2 separate regions of the Homo sapiens genome follow, and region 2 is linked to region 1. Evidence: promoter capture Hi-C in human tissues and cell types (Jung and others, 2019). All regions are on one chromosome and are shown on one strand. Each heading gives the region's core, a stretch centred on a gene start or on the middle of the fragment in contact. The rest is flanking DNA. Distances are from core to core; before and after follow the strand shown. Region 1 holds the start of C3orf22 (chromosome 3 open reading frame 22). Region 2 overlaps CHCHD6 (coiled-coil-helix-coiled-coil-helix domain containing 6).

What was found. The method cuts DNA at HindIII sites, captures the fragments that hold promoters and counts their contacts. A contact is called where the count stands out against the background at its distance.
Region 2: a fragment that was not itself captured here is called in contact with the fragment with the promoter of C3orf22 in region 1 in 1 of the 25 tissues and cell types used here (thymus).

Annotation. Positions count from the first base shown.
Region 1 is chr3:126,556,012-126,561,830 of GRCh38, forward strand. C3orf22 (chromosome 3 open reading frame 22) reads right to left here and starts at 2,921. Exons shown (of 4, transcript NM_152533.3): 1 at 2,616-2,921. It overlaps LOC105374090 (a long non-coding RNA gene), which reads left to right and starts at 3,002. Exons shown (of 3, transcript XR_924455.2): 1 at 3,002-3,178. The HindIII fragment of the contact is 13,796 bases long and covers 1-5,819 here.
Region 2 is chr3:126,711,914-126,717,732 of GRCh38, forward strand. The region is part of intron 1 of CHCHD6 (coiled-coil-helix-coiled-coil-helix domain containing 6); the gene reads left to right. Among named protein-coding and RNA genes, the nearest start is that of CHCHD6, 11 kb to the left of the region's middle. The HindIII fragment of the contact is 6,288 bases long and covers 1-5,338 here.

The sequences.
Region 1 (5,819 bases), core at 1,671-4,170:
CCCTGTCCCATCCTACCTGGTGCTCCACTGAAAGCCCTCAGCCTAGAGGATTGTGCACTGCTTTGGTGGGGATGCCCCAGAAGCAGGGAGCCTGCATGCCAGTGAGGACCTGGCTTCAGCCTGAGATTTGCAGCAGATGCTGTCAGGGGCCCATGCACAGCACCTCTGCCCTCACCTCCACACCTGGAGGCCAGGCCTTTGACTCCCTCCGGCTGCAGAGATGCACTAGGCCATGCACAGAGAGTGACAGCAGCCCCTCACCAATGAGGGCAGGGAATTGGATAAATACCCCAGCTCCCTTGCCCCTCTTTGGGGGCAGCTCGGAGCTGTGCTCTGCACAGTCACCCACAGCAGCCTGTGGGGGCTGGCTGAGCTGCAGCCATGGTGAGGACACACCCCAGAGTGCATCCTCCCTTCCCCTTCCCTCCCCACATCCCACTTTCCTCTCAGCGCCTCCTGGGTGCAGCTCCCAAGTGCAGCTCTGCACTTGCACCTGTCCAGGGCCTGCTTGGGGACTGCACATCTACACACTCATGCCCAGCAACCGCTGCAAACGCCCCAGCCTCAGAGGACCCAGGCCAAGAAGGCGGCCGCTAAGCAGGTTTCCCACCTCGCCTCACTGACTGCCGTTCCCACACACACACACACACACACTCACTCTCACAGACACACACACTCATTCTCACACACACACTCACACAGACTGACCCCACACACAGACTCATACTCACAGACTCACACATACGCACACTCACACAGACTCACACACTCAGACTCACACACACTCAGGCTCACCCACACACACAGACTCACATACACACTCACACACAGACACCCCCCACACACAGACTCACATACACACACACACACAGACTCACACACATGCTCAGACTCACACACATAGACACACACAGACACATACACACTCACACACTCATACACACAGACACACATAGATTCACATACACACACATACAGACACATAGACACATACACACAGACCCACACAAACTCACATACACATACACAGATTCACATACACAGACTCACACATTCACACACAGATTCACACACACACAGATTCACACTCACACACAGACACATACAGACACTCTTACAGACTCACACTCAGACCTGACCTCATACACACCCCCACACACAGGCAGGTGGCCATCTGGGTGTGGCTGGCCTCAGCTCTGTCCCTATCCTCTGCTGCGTGACCTGGGAGCTCCTCGCTTCCTTGGTCCAAGGCAGAGGCTGCCCCCACCAGCCCATAACGCACCTTGCTTCCCTTCCCAATTCAAAGCAGCTGGCGTGACCTACTACCACACCTGGCATGATTCAAAATCCGATGATGTCTGGAGAGGAGCCCCTGGGGAACACGGGTAGCCCTTTCCAAATCTGGGATTCCGGAGTCCTCCAAAAGCCGGTGGGCTCGGGCAAGACTGCTCGGCAGTGATCCCATAATGTGCCATGCTGCTCATCCATCCCTCTGAGGGCGGGGTACTGGGCTAGCTGGGAGGCTGCCTGCCGCCAAGTGTGGAATCACTCAAGGCCCGAGGCGGGAGGCTGCACACTGGACACTGAACACAGGCCACTGGGACCATGGCCATGGCATGGGAGACCAGCCTGTCTGTGAGCCAGAACACACCCGCTCACCCACCGCCTCCGTGCCCCATCTCTGACTCTGGAAGATCAGCCATCCAGAGGGCCTTTGCCCTGGCCCAGAAATACTGCCAGCCCTGCTCACGACCTGTCCCTTGCCCGCACCAAGAAGTCCCTGGGCCCTGAAGGGCAGGCTTCCCCACTGACTTGCCCACTAGTCTAGTACAGGGTGCAGCTCTCTACACCAGTGCTGGCTAAAGGGGGTCTTGGTGGCCTCCGCCCCTGCAGCCCTGGCTGTTCTGAGGACTCTGGGATGCCTTCGCTGGGCCTAAGCCCACAGTCCTGCAGCCACAGCCTGGGCCAGGCCCCAGCTCAGCCCCTTCCTGTCAGGTGCACTTGGGTGAGTCACCTCCAGCCCAGGCTCAACCCTGAGGAGTGCGGGGCAGGGGAAGCCTGGGCCGGGACAGGCAGCAGGGCCACAGCAGGAGGCTGCAGAATGGTGCCTGTGGCCTCTAAGTGTCTGCTACATTCTATGCATAACCTCACTTCATTTTTTTTCTACCTGATGGAGAACGTATTATGCTCACCCCCATAATTCAAGTGAGGAAACTGAGGCTCCGGAAAGTTAACTGATTTGCCTGCATTCACACAGTGAGTCGGGGAAGAGGTTCAGGATGGGTGGCCTGTGCTCCTCCTGCTGGGCCATGCAGCCTCAAACAGTCCTGAACCGGGGAAGCAGCATTACCACAGGAATTGAGGGATCAAGGGAGACAGGAGCGCCCCTCAGCCCCACCCCATACCCTCCCACCTGACCCCTAGGTCATGGAGATGACCCTGTAAGCTGACTGCTGAATCTGCCCCACAGGGACAGGGCTGCTGCAGAGTCCAGGGCTGCCCTCTGCCATCATGACCCTGTCCCAGGCTCTTCTCCGCCACCCTGTTGCTGCTTCCCAAGTCCCTAACCGACTTGGGGACTGTCCTTTCCAGCCACACAGGCTGCTAGCACTCACCAGGCAGCTACCTTGAATTCTGGCAGTGACGATGATCAGGTGTGATCAGAGAGTCCTGGAACTGCTCCTATCCAGCAAGATGCTGGTGTGAGAGCCGCTGTGGCCCCCGAGGCTGGCAGGGCCCTGGCTACAGCCCTCTCTGGAAAGACCCAGTCCCAGGCTATGCCCAGAGCTTCCAGCCAGAAAGGACAAGCTGCAGGACCCTGTGGGCTGGCTTATGTGACGCCAGGCAGACTGAAGCTGGCCATGGTCCCAGCTGCCACATTACCACAGGAACAGCAGCCCCAGGGTCCCCGGACAGGCAGTGCCAACAAGCTCACTGCAAGGTCAGAAGCCCTTGAGGTCACAATTGGTGACATCACAGCTGCTGACCCATGAGGCTCAGACTCCAGCCTGAAGCCCCTCTGGCCCAGGGAGTGACTGCAAAGTCAGCAGCACATGGGCCAGGGCTGGCCAGCCTCTCAGCTCCACGCACCCAGACAGAAGCATCCACATCTGCACTCTTCATAGCAGAGACCTCTCCCTGTTCAGGTTCTGCATACAGAAGAGACGCCCAGAAATAGGTACAGACACTGAGGCTGCAGAAAAGCTGTTTCTGTGGAGGAGTGGACACCAGGTTGCAGGGGGTTGAGGAAGGAGAAGGCAGTGAAGGAGCTGAACTGGAAGTGGTTCAGCCGTTCACCTGTGCCACTGTCTACTGTACCCTACGACTTTTCACTTATTAGTGCTGTTCACCTGTGCCACTGTCTGCTATACCCTACGGCTTTTTACTTATTAGTGCTAACAGGGTTTTTATGGATTATTTAGGGTTTTCTATATGCCATCTGTGAACGGAGGTAACTTCACTTCTTCCTTTCCAATTCGAATGCTTTATATTTCCTTTTCTTGCTTAGTTGCTCTGGCTAGAACTTCCAGTACTGTGTTAAATAGAACTGGGGAAGGTGGGCATCCTTGTCTCCTTCTTGATCTTAGAGAAAAAGTTTCCAGTTTTTCACTATACAGTATGGTGTTGGCTGTGGGATTTTTGGATATATTGCCTTTATCATGTTAAGGAGTTGAGTGTTTTTATCATGAAAGAGTGTTCAATTTTGTCAAGCGTGTTTTCCACATCAATTGAAATGATCATGTCTTTTCCTCCTCATTCTAATAATGTAGTGTAGTACATTGATATTTTCATTATGAAAAAATAATCCTTACATTCTAGGGATAAATATTACTTGTTAATAGTGTGTAACACTTTTAATATGCTGATGAATTTCATTTACTAATATTTCATTGAGGATTTTTGCATGTGTATTCATAAGGGATATTGGCCCCTAGTTTTCCTTTCTTGTAGGGTCTTTGTCTGACTTTGGTATTAGGGCAATGCTGGCCTCACAGAATGAGTTAGGAAATGGTCCCACCTCTTCAACTTTTAGAAAAACTTTGAAAAACATTTATGTATGTTCTTTAGTAAGTGTTTGTTAGAATTCACGAGTGATATCATGTGGCCCAGGGCTTTTCTTCGTTACTGATTCAATCTCTTTACTAGTTATGAGTCTATTCATATTTTCTATTTCTCCCTGATTCAGTCTTGTTGGTTTTTTTTTTTTTTGTTTCTAGAAATTTGTCCATTTTATCTAGGTTATCCAATTTGTTGGCGTGACATTTTTTGGCGTATTCTTTCATAATCCTTTTTATTTCTGTATGGTCAGTAGTAATACCTCCCACTTTCCTTTCTTATTTTACTAATTTGAGTCTTTTTCTTTCCTTAGTCAATCTAGCTAAAGCTTTGTTAATTTTGATCACTTCAAAAATCGCCTTTTGGTTTTGTTGATTTTCTCCATTGTTTTTCCATTCTCGACTTGATTTATCTTTAACCTTCATTATTTCCTTACTTCTGCTAGCTCTGGATTTAGTCTGCTCTTCGTTTTCTAATTCCTTAAATTGTGTAGTTAGATCATTAATTTGGGATCCTTCTTATTTTTAAGATGTAGACATTAATAGCTACAAGTTTCCCTCTTAGCACTGCTTTCTCTGCATACCATAACATTTGGTATGTTGAGTTTTTCTTTTAATTCATATCAAGGCATTTTCTTTTTTCTTTCTCTTTCCTTCTTTTCTTTTTTTTTTTTTTTTTTGAGACAGTTTCACTCTGTTGCACAGGATGGAGTGCAGTAGCGCAATCTCGGCTCACTGCAACCTCTGTTTCTTGAGTTCAAGTGATTCTCATGCCTCAGCCTCTCGAGTAGCTGGAAATACAGGCAGGTGCCACCACGCCTGGCTAATTTTTGCATTTTTGGTAAAGACTTGGTTTTACCATGCTGGCCAGGCTGGTCTCAAACTCCTGGCATCAAATGATCAACCCATCTCAACCTCCCAAAGTGCTGGGATTACACGAGTGAGCCACCGTGCCTGGCCTAATTCATATCAAGGCATTTTCTAAATTCCCTTGTGGATTTATTCTTTGACCTACTGGTTGCATAAAGTGTGTTATTTAATAGGCAAATACTGTAATTTTTCCAGTTTTCCTTCTGTCATGGATTTCTAGTCATTCCGTTGTGATAAAAAATATACTTTGTATGATTTGAATCTTCTTAGGCTTATTAAGATTTATTTTATGGCCTAATATGTCCTGGAGAACATCCTATGTACATTTAAGAAGAATGTATATTTTGCTATTGTTGGGTTTAGTTTTCTATATAATCTGTTAGGTCTAATTGGTTTAGAGTGTTGTTCAAGTGCTCTATTTCTTTTTCTTTTTTGAGACAGAGTCTCACTCTGTCACCCAGGTTGGAGTGCAGTGGCATGATCTCAGCTCACTGCAACCTCCATCTCCCAAGTTCAAGCAATTCTCCTGCCTCAGCTTCCAAGTAGCTGGGAATACAGTCGTCCACCACCACGCCCAGCTAATTTTTGTATTTTTAGTAGAGACAGGGTTTCACTGTGTTGGCCAAGCTGGTCTCAAACTTCTGACCTCAGGTGATCCACCTGCCTCAGCCTCCCAAAGTGCTGGGATTACAGGCGTGAGCCACTGCACTCAGCCTCTATTTCTTTATTGATCTTCTTCTGTTTGGTTCTATCGATTATTGAAATTTGGGTATTAAAATCTCCATCTATTACTGTAGAACTATTTCTTCCTTCAATTTTATCAATTTTTGCTTCATATTTTTGGGGGTTCTGTTGTTAGGTGCATATATGTTTATGATAGCTATATATTTTGAT
Region 2 (5,819 bases), core at 945-3,444, 160 kb after region 1:
TGGGCTAGCTGCTTTCACATGTGTTATTCTGTTTGATGCTCCTGAATCCATCACATGTTCTGACAAGTGCTGAGGCATTAGAAAACAAGGTAAAGCAAATTCTGCAGGGAAGCACAGTACTTTAGGTCTCTCTACCTTTTCCACCTCAGCTGCTGAGGAGTGGAGGCTCATCTTAAAGACAGGATGGTTGAAGGCCCAGACACCTGCATGTAGATTTCCCGCTGGTGCGTTCCATTTTTCTGCCTTGGTGGTTCTGAAACTCACTGTGTGTGAGAATGACAGCAGGGGACTGTCTACACAACCACACTGTACTTTAGGTGCAGAAGGAATCACTCTCAAGGGTTTAGTTGAATATCCTTTAAATTTTATCATAATATAGTACAGCGTAACCAGTAATACAATCTAAGTAGTACAAGAGTTAAAAGTTATTTCCACCTTCTGACTTCAGCATATGATCCTCATATATGATGAAATTCCATTACATTCCTCCTTTCTTGTATCACAGTACAATGTTGAAGGTCTCTGTATGTAAAAGATAAATCTATAAAATAATATAAATGTAAGGTTGTTAATTGTAACCCTTACTAGGCTCATCTCGGGCCAGTTCCCACATTTGGAAAGTAAACGTGCTGCACTGGAAGGCAGCCTTGATCCTCCCAGGCTTCAAGTGCTGCCTTTTCCCTCTATTGGAAGGGGTCGCTCCTGCTCTCCGCAGTGGCACTAGTGTCCAGCATCAACCACCGTCTCTGCCCTTCCTGTGTCTGGTAGGAGCTTCTGACCGTTTCTGAGCCTGCTATCCCTTCTGTGCCCTGTTCCTGGCCATTCTCTTTCATCCTCATTCATGCACCCATGACTTCTGGATTCTAAATATCCAACCCAGAGCTTTCTAAATGACCCTGCCAGCACCCCCGTGCATGTCCCATGGGTACATTTAATTGACTGTGTCCAAATGGGACTCACCCGCATTTCTTCTCTGCCCCCTTAGAGATGACCCTTGTCTCTTCTGTTGTGAGTAGCTCTACTATCCAGTCCTTCATCCGGAAAGCTGGCGGTCATCCACGTTCCTCTCTTTCTCTATATTCATGACAAGTCTTGAGCTTTACCTTACAGCAGTTTCTCCGTTTTGTTCTCTCCTCTTTGTCCTTCCTACTCTCAGTTCAGGCCTATACTATCTTCCCCTTGACCAGCTGACAAATTGTTCTTTATTAGCTTGCTTCCCACAAATCTATACTTTCTGGTGCTACCAGGCTATTTTTTTTAAAAAACGCAAATTTTACTTTTGAACAGGTTTCCAGGAGATGGTCATTAAATGCAGACAGTTAAAAAGGAGTTGCCCGGGGAAAAGCTTGTCTCCCTTCCACTGTGTTTTGTCAGTCCTGCTCCCAGAGGCAGCCCGTGACCAGCTTCTTGTGTCCCGGGGACTGTTCAGAGTTGAGGCTGATTGTGTCACATCCTTTCATGTCTCCCCCTTGCCTCTTGGTTAAAGGCATGTTTCCGGGCCTGGCTCACAAGGTCCTTCATGTGTGGGCGCCACTTTCTGCCTTCACTGCGCCTCCCTGCAGGGACACTTGATCCTGCGGGACCCTAAGCTGCTTCATGCATGTGTGCCTGTGATTCTCCTCCTTTGGCTGGCCAGGTGGAAGTGTTGCCTTCAGAAGGAGCCTTTGGTGGTGTCCCCTGCAGACTCTGTGGTCCCCTCCCAGGGCTTAGTGCCCTGGGCCAAAATGATCTATTCCACACTTACTTCCTTTCTGCCCCATGAACAGGGGCCACATCTTCTTCGTCTCTCTGTCCCCAGCACCTAAGCCAGAGCTTGGCACAAGTCAGTAAAATACTTGTTGGATAAAAGTTTAAGCCACTGGCTCAGTTTTTCTTGCCTCAAACTATGACTCCAGAAACTTAATGATATTAATTGATTTTAAGTAATTGCCACCATTTAAAAGTTGGGAGGCTTTAGATCGAGACCATCCTGTCTAATATGGTGAAACCCTGTCTCTACTAAAAATACAAAAAGTTAGCCGGGCATGGTGGTGGGTGCCTGTAGTCCCAGCTACTTGGGAGGCTGAGGCAGGAGAATGGCATGAACCTGGGAGGCGGAGCTTGCAGTGAGCTGAGATCGCACCACTGCACTCCAGCCTGGGCGACAGAGCCAGACTGCATCTCAAAAAAAAAAAAAAAAAAAAAAAAAAAGTTGGGAGGCTTTACATAAAATTTATTTTTAGCTTTTTTGGGGGAACAAATGGAAAGTCTGCCATTCTTGTGTGACAACACTTTGCTGGAGTTGCAAAGTGGCTACACTCTTCAGGTGGCTGTGCAGTCTCATTACAGTTACACCATGGTATCCTTGCATGGTGCTTTATAAATTTTATTTTTTAAAATCAGGCTTGTTTTATTTGTTTCCACCACCTGTCCGACTCCTGTGGGCATTTGTGTGTGCCATGCTTGGTGTAGGAGGTCTCCGAGGGCTCTTCTTGTTCTGCCTTTCTGGGATTGACATCTGTGGTGAGCAGCCGGTGCATCTAATTTCAGCTCATAGAAAACTGAAGAGCTAGGGAACAAAATCTCCAAGGCAACAGCCTTAGGCAAGGGGGTGATCTTCTTCGGATCACGGGGTTGGGCAACACCTCTACAGAGACTGGGGTGTCGGGCATCGGGGTGTTGGCACCAGGAGCTGACAGGCTGAGCCTCCTGGAAGCCTGTCCTTCTGAAACTGGCCACATCGGCACTGTCCTGGTGCTAGGCCTGCCCTAGCCCACCCTGCCTGCCTGCTGTAGGCCTGAGCTGATTTTATCTCTTCCTCGTTTTCCAGTGCCTAGCACCCAGCAGGCCCTAGGAAAACACTGCGTTGAGTGGATGGAGCATGGCTGCGTAGGCCTGTCTCGGCTGCTGACCCACTGTATAACTTTGGGAAGTCACTCTCTGCAGCTCACTCTCTTCATCCTCAGAGTGAGGACGATGACACCGCTCCTGCCTGTGATGCCTCACTTTGTGAACTGTGTGAACTTTCAATGCAAAGACTAATGCTTAAACTGCCTCCCCATTGCGCCTTCCCAAATGTGCCTAGGTAGTTAACATTTTTAAGGCTAAAAACATACTCATTTTCATATTGACATTCGACTAGTTTTTAAAGTAGGTTGTCTGTTTTGTGGGTATACGGATGCTCTGCCCGTCCATCTCCCTGGGGCTCCATAAAGCAGTCGGTGGAGGAAGTGGGAACTGCAAATCATTCTATTGTTTCCCAGTCTTCCCTTCTATGAAAAGGGTTACTTGTCACCTCAGAGCAGCTCCATGTTACTGCCTTTACTTGTGCAGGGGTCCCTGTTAAGTGTCCAGGGTTTGGATTTGAGTCATTACCCTAGCACTTCCCACGTTCCACCTCCCTGACTCAGTTTCTTCATCTGTAAAGTGGCGATCGCTGCACAGGGACTGCCCTTACCTGGAGCCTGGCATATGGAGTATGCTCTAGGAACGGCAAGTCAGGGTCGTTTTTGTCATTAGCCTTAAATAGGCACCCTTATCATCAGTCTTGGGTTGCAGTCTTCTCTTCTAGCCATGAGCTTTGCTGCCTGCCTCTGGAGTGTGGGGAAATTACATTCTTACCTGGCCTGCCCCTAGGCTCTTGTATGCCTGGGATTCCCTAACATCTTTCTAGAGAGGTAGCCTCTTGTAGCTTCCTGTGCAACCTGTTTGCCTGTGGAACAGAGCTGCATGGATGGACTTGGAACATGACACACCCACACAGAGATCAATAATGTGGCTCAATAATGATGCCTGCCTCTTTCCCACGAGCCATACTCAGGGCCTTGCTATCAGTTTTCCCTCATCCCTGTTACTTTAGGAGTTTTTCTTCTTGTGGAGTGCATCTTATTTTTAAATGCCAGCTGGTCACAATTTCTCATGAATCCTTTCAGAGTTTTCCCAAGGCCGTGGATACAAGTGCACTCTTTCCTTTCTGCAAGTACAAATGAGATCACGCTATTCCGTCCATTCCCTTTTCCTCTTACCTGCGCATTCAGTCAGATGGTCTGAAATAGTTTCACTTCCTTGGCGTCTTTTGTAACCATCCCCTCCCTGTCACTGCTTCAGTTGTCACACTTCTCAGTGCTCCTCCTCCTGATTTGCACTGTTGTGGTGGTTTCCCTGCTACCAGCCCCTTCGTGATTTCAGTCCCTCCTCCTGCTTTGCCAGACCTTCCTGTGCAAAGAGAAGACTGACCACATCCCTGCTTATAGCCTTCACTGACTCCCAGTTCCAGCTTCCTTGGTTTGCCATCCAAGGCTCTCAACAGGTGGCACTCCAGCAACTCCTCACACCTGATGTTTTCACGTCCCTGCCAGACTGAGCCGTGGTGCTCCTTGGAGCTCCCTCCCTTCCGTGCCTTTGCTCATGCCACACCTCTCTCTGGAACGCCACCTTCTGCTCACACCCCTTCTCTGCTGTCATCCCTTCAGGCCCAATTCAGGCCATCTCCCTTCTAGCTGGAACTCGGAGTTCCATTGTTGAACCTCCTGGGCCCTTAGGAGGGCCGCTGGTATCCACTGCTCAGTGGCTTGTCTTCTCTCCCTCTGTATCTGTCTCCTCCACCCTGCTTGACCATGAGCTCTTTGAGTAGAAGGGTCATGGATGTCATATCTTTATATACTCCATCATGCTAGTACCATGTTATGGACCCAGGCCTCTAATAAATATTTAATTCATGTGGTTCACAAACATTTGAGTGTCTCCGGTGTGCTAAGCCCTGAAGATACAGCAGGAGCATCATGGAATCCCTGCGCCTGTGGAGCCACTGTGCTGTTGGAGTGAAGACAAAAAAGTGCTTGGGGTCTGTTGTGCCCGGAGGTCATAAGTGCTGCAAAGAAAGCAAAGCAGAGTAAGGGGAGGGACGGTGCTGGCAGGGGTGGGGTTGATAGGGGGGCTGGTTCCAGACAGGGGAGTCGGGGAAATGCGTGCAGTCCCCTTTGAGGCTGAGCCTGCTGGGAGTCAGTTGGTTCCCTGGCCTTTCTACAGCAATCTTGGCCCCTCTTTTTATCGCTTTAGCTTCTGTAGTGGTTGTCCTTTCTAGGGGCCTGAGTGCTGCTTAGCAGGTGCATCTCCCCTTGCTCTTGCTGTTGGGGTGGCAGCCTGCTGCCTTCAAAGCAGAGCAGCACAGCAGTTAAGCACGCAGGCCGGGGTCAGGCGGCTTTCCCTGCAGTCAGGCTTTGGTCCTGTGGCTTCATGGACTGGGCAAGTTCTTTAACCTCTCTCTACCTTGGTTTTCTCAAGTAGAAGGTGGGTGTGGCATTGTGAGGATTAGTGAGGTGGTCTGTGCACAGTGAGTGCTGGATGAAGGTTAATCAGTAGGTAGGTAGCGTTAGTAAGGTGGCACAACTCAGTTACAATCACAACTCTCATCCTCATGACCTTATATCATGACCTTATATTGGGTCAGCTGCACACTGCTCACTCCTGTCCTTGTTCATTCAGTTGTTGATAATACCTACTTGAGGTTTTTAAGATGGCACCATTCTCCTTACAACCTTTTAGTCGCGAGGTGGCCATGTGACTTACTCGTAGACCTGTATGGTTTAATAAAGAAACCCATACGGTGGCATGCACCTATAGTCCTGGCTACTCAGGAGGCTGAGGCAGGAGGATCCCTTGGGCCCAGGAGTTTGAGACCACCTGGGCAACAAAGGGAGGCCTTATCTCTAAAAAATAAAAAAAGAAATCTGTAGCCATTTGGGAACTTGCCTCTAAGTTCACAGTTGCTTTTGGGTGAGGCTGGCATTTTGGTTAGGGTCAGATTTTGGTTTCTTCCTTGGAAGGAGGTGGGATCTGGG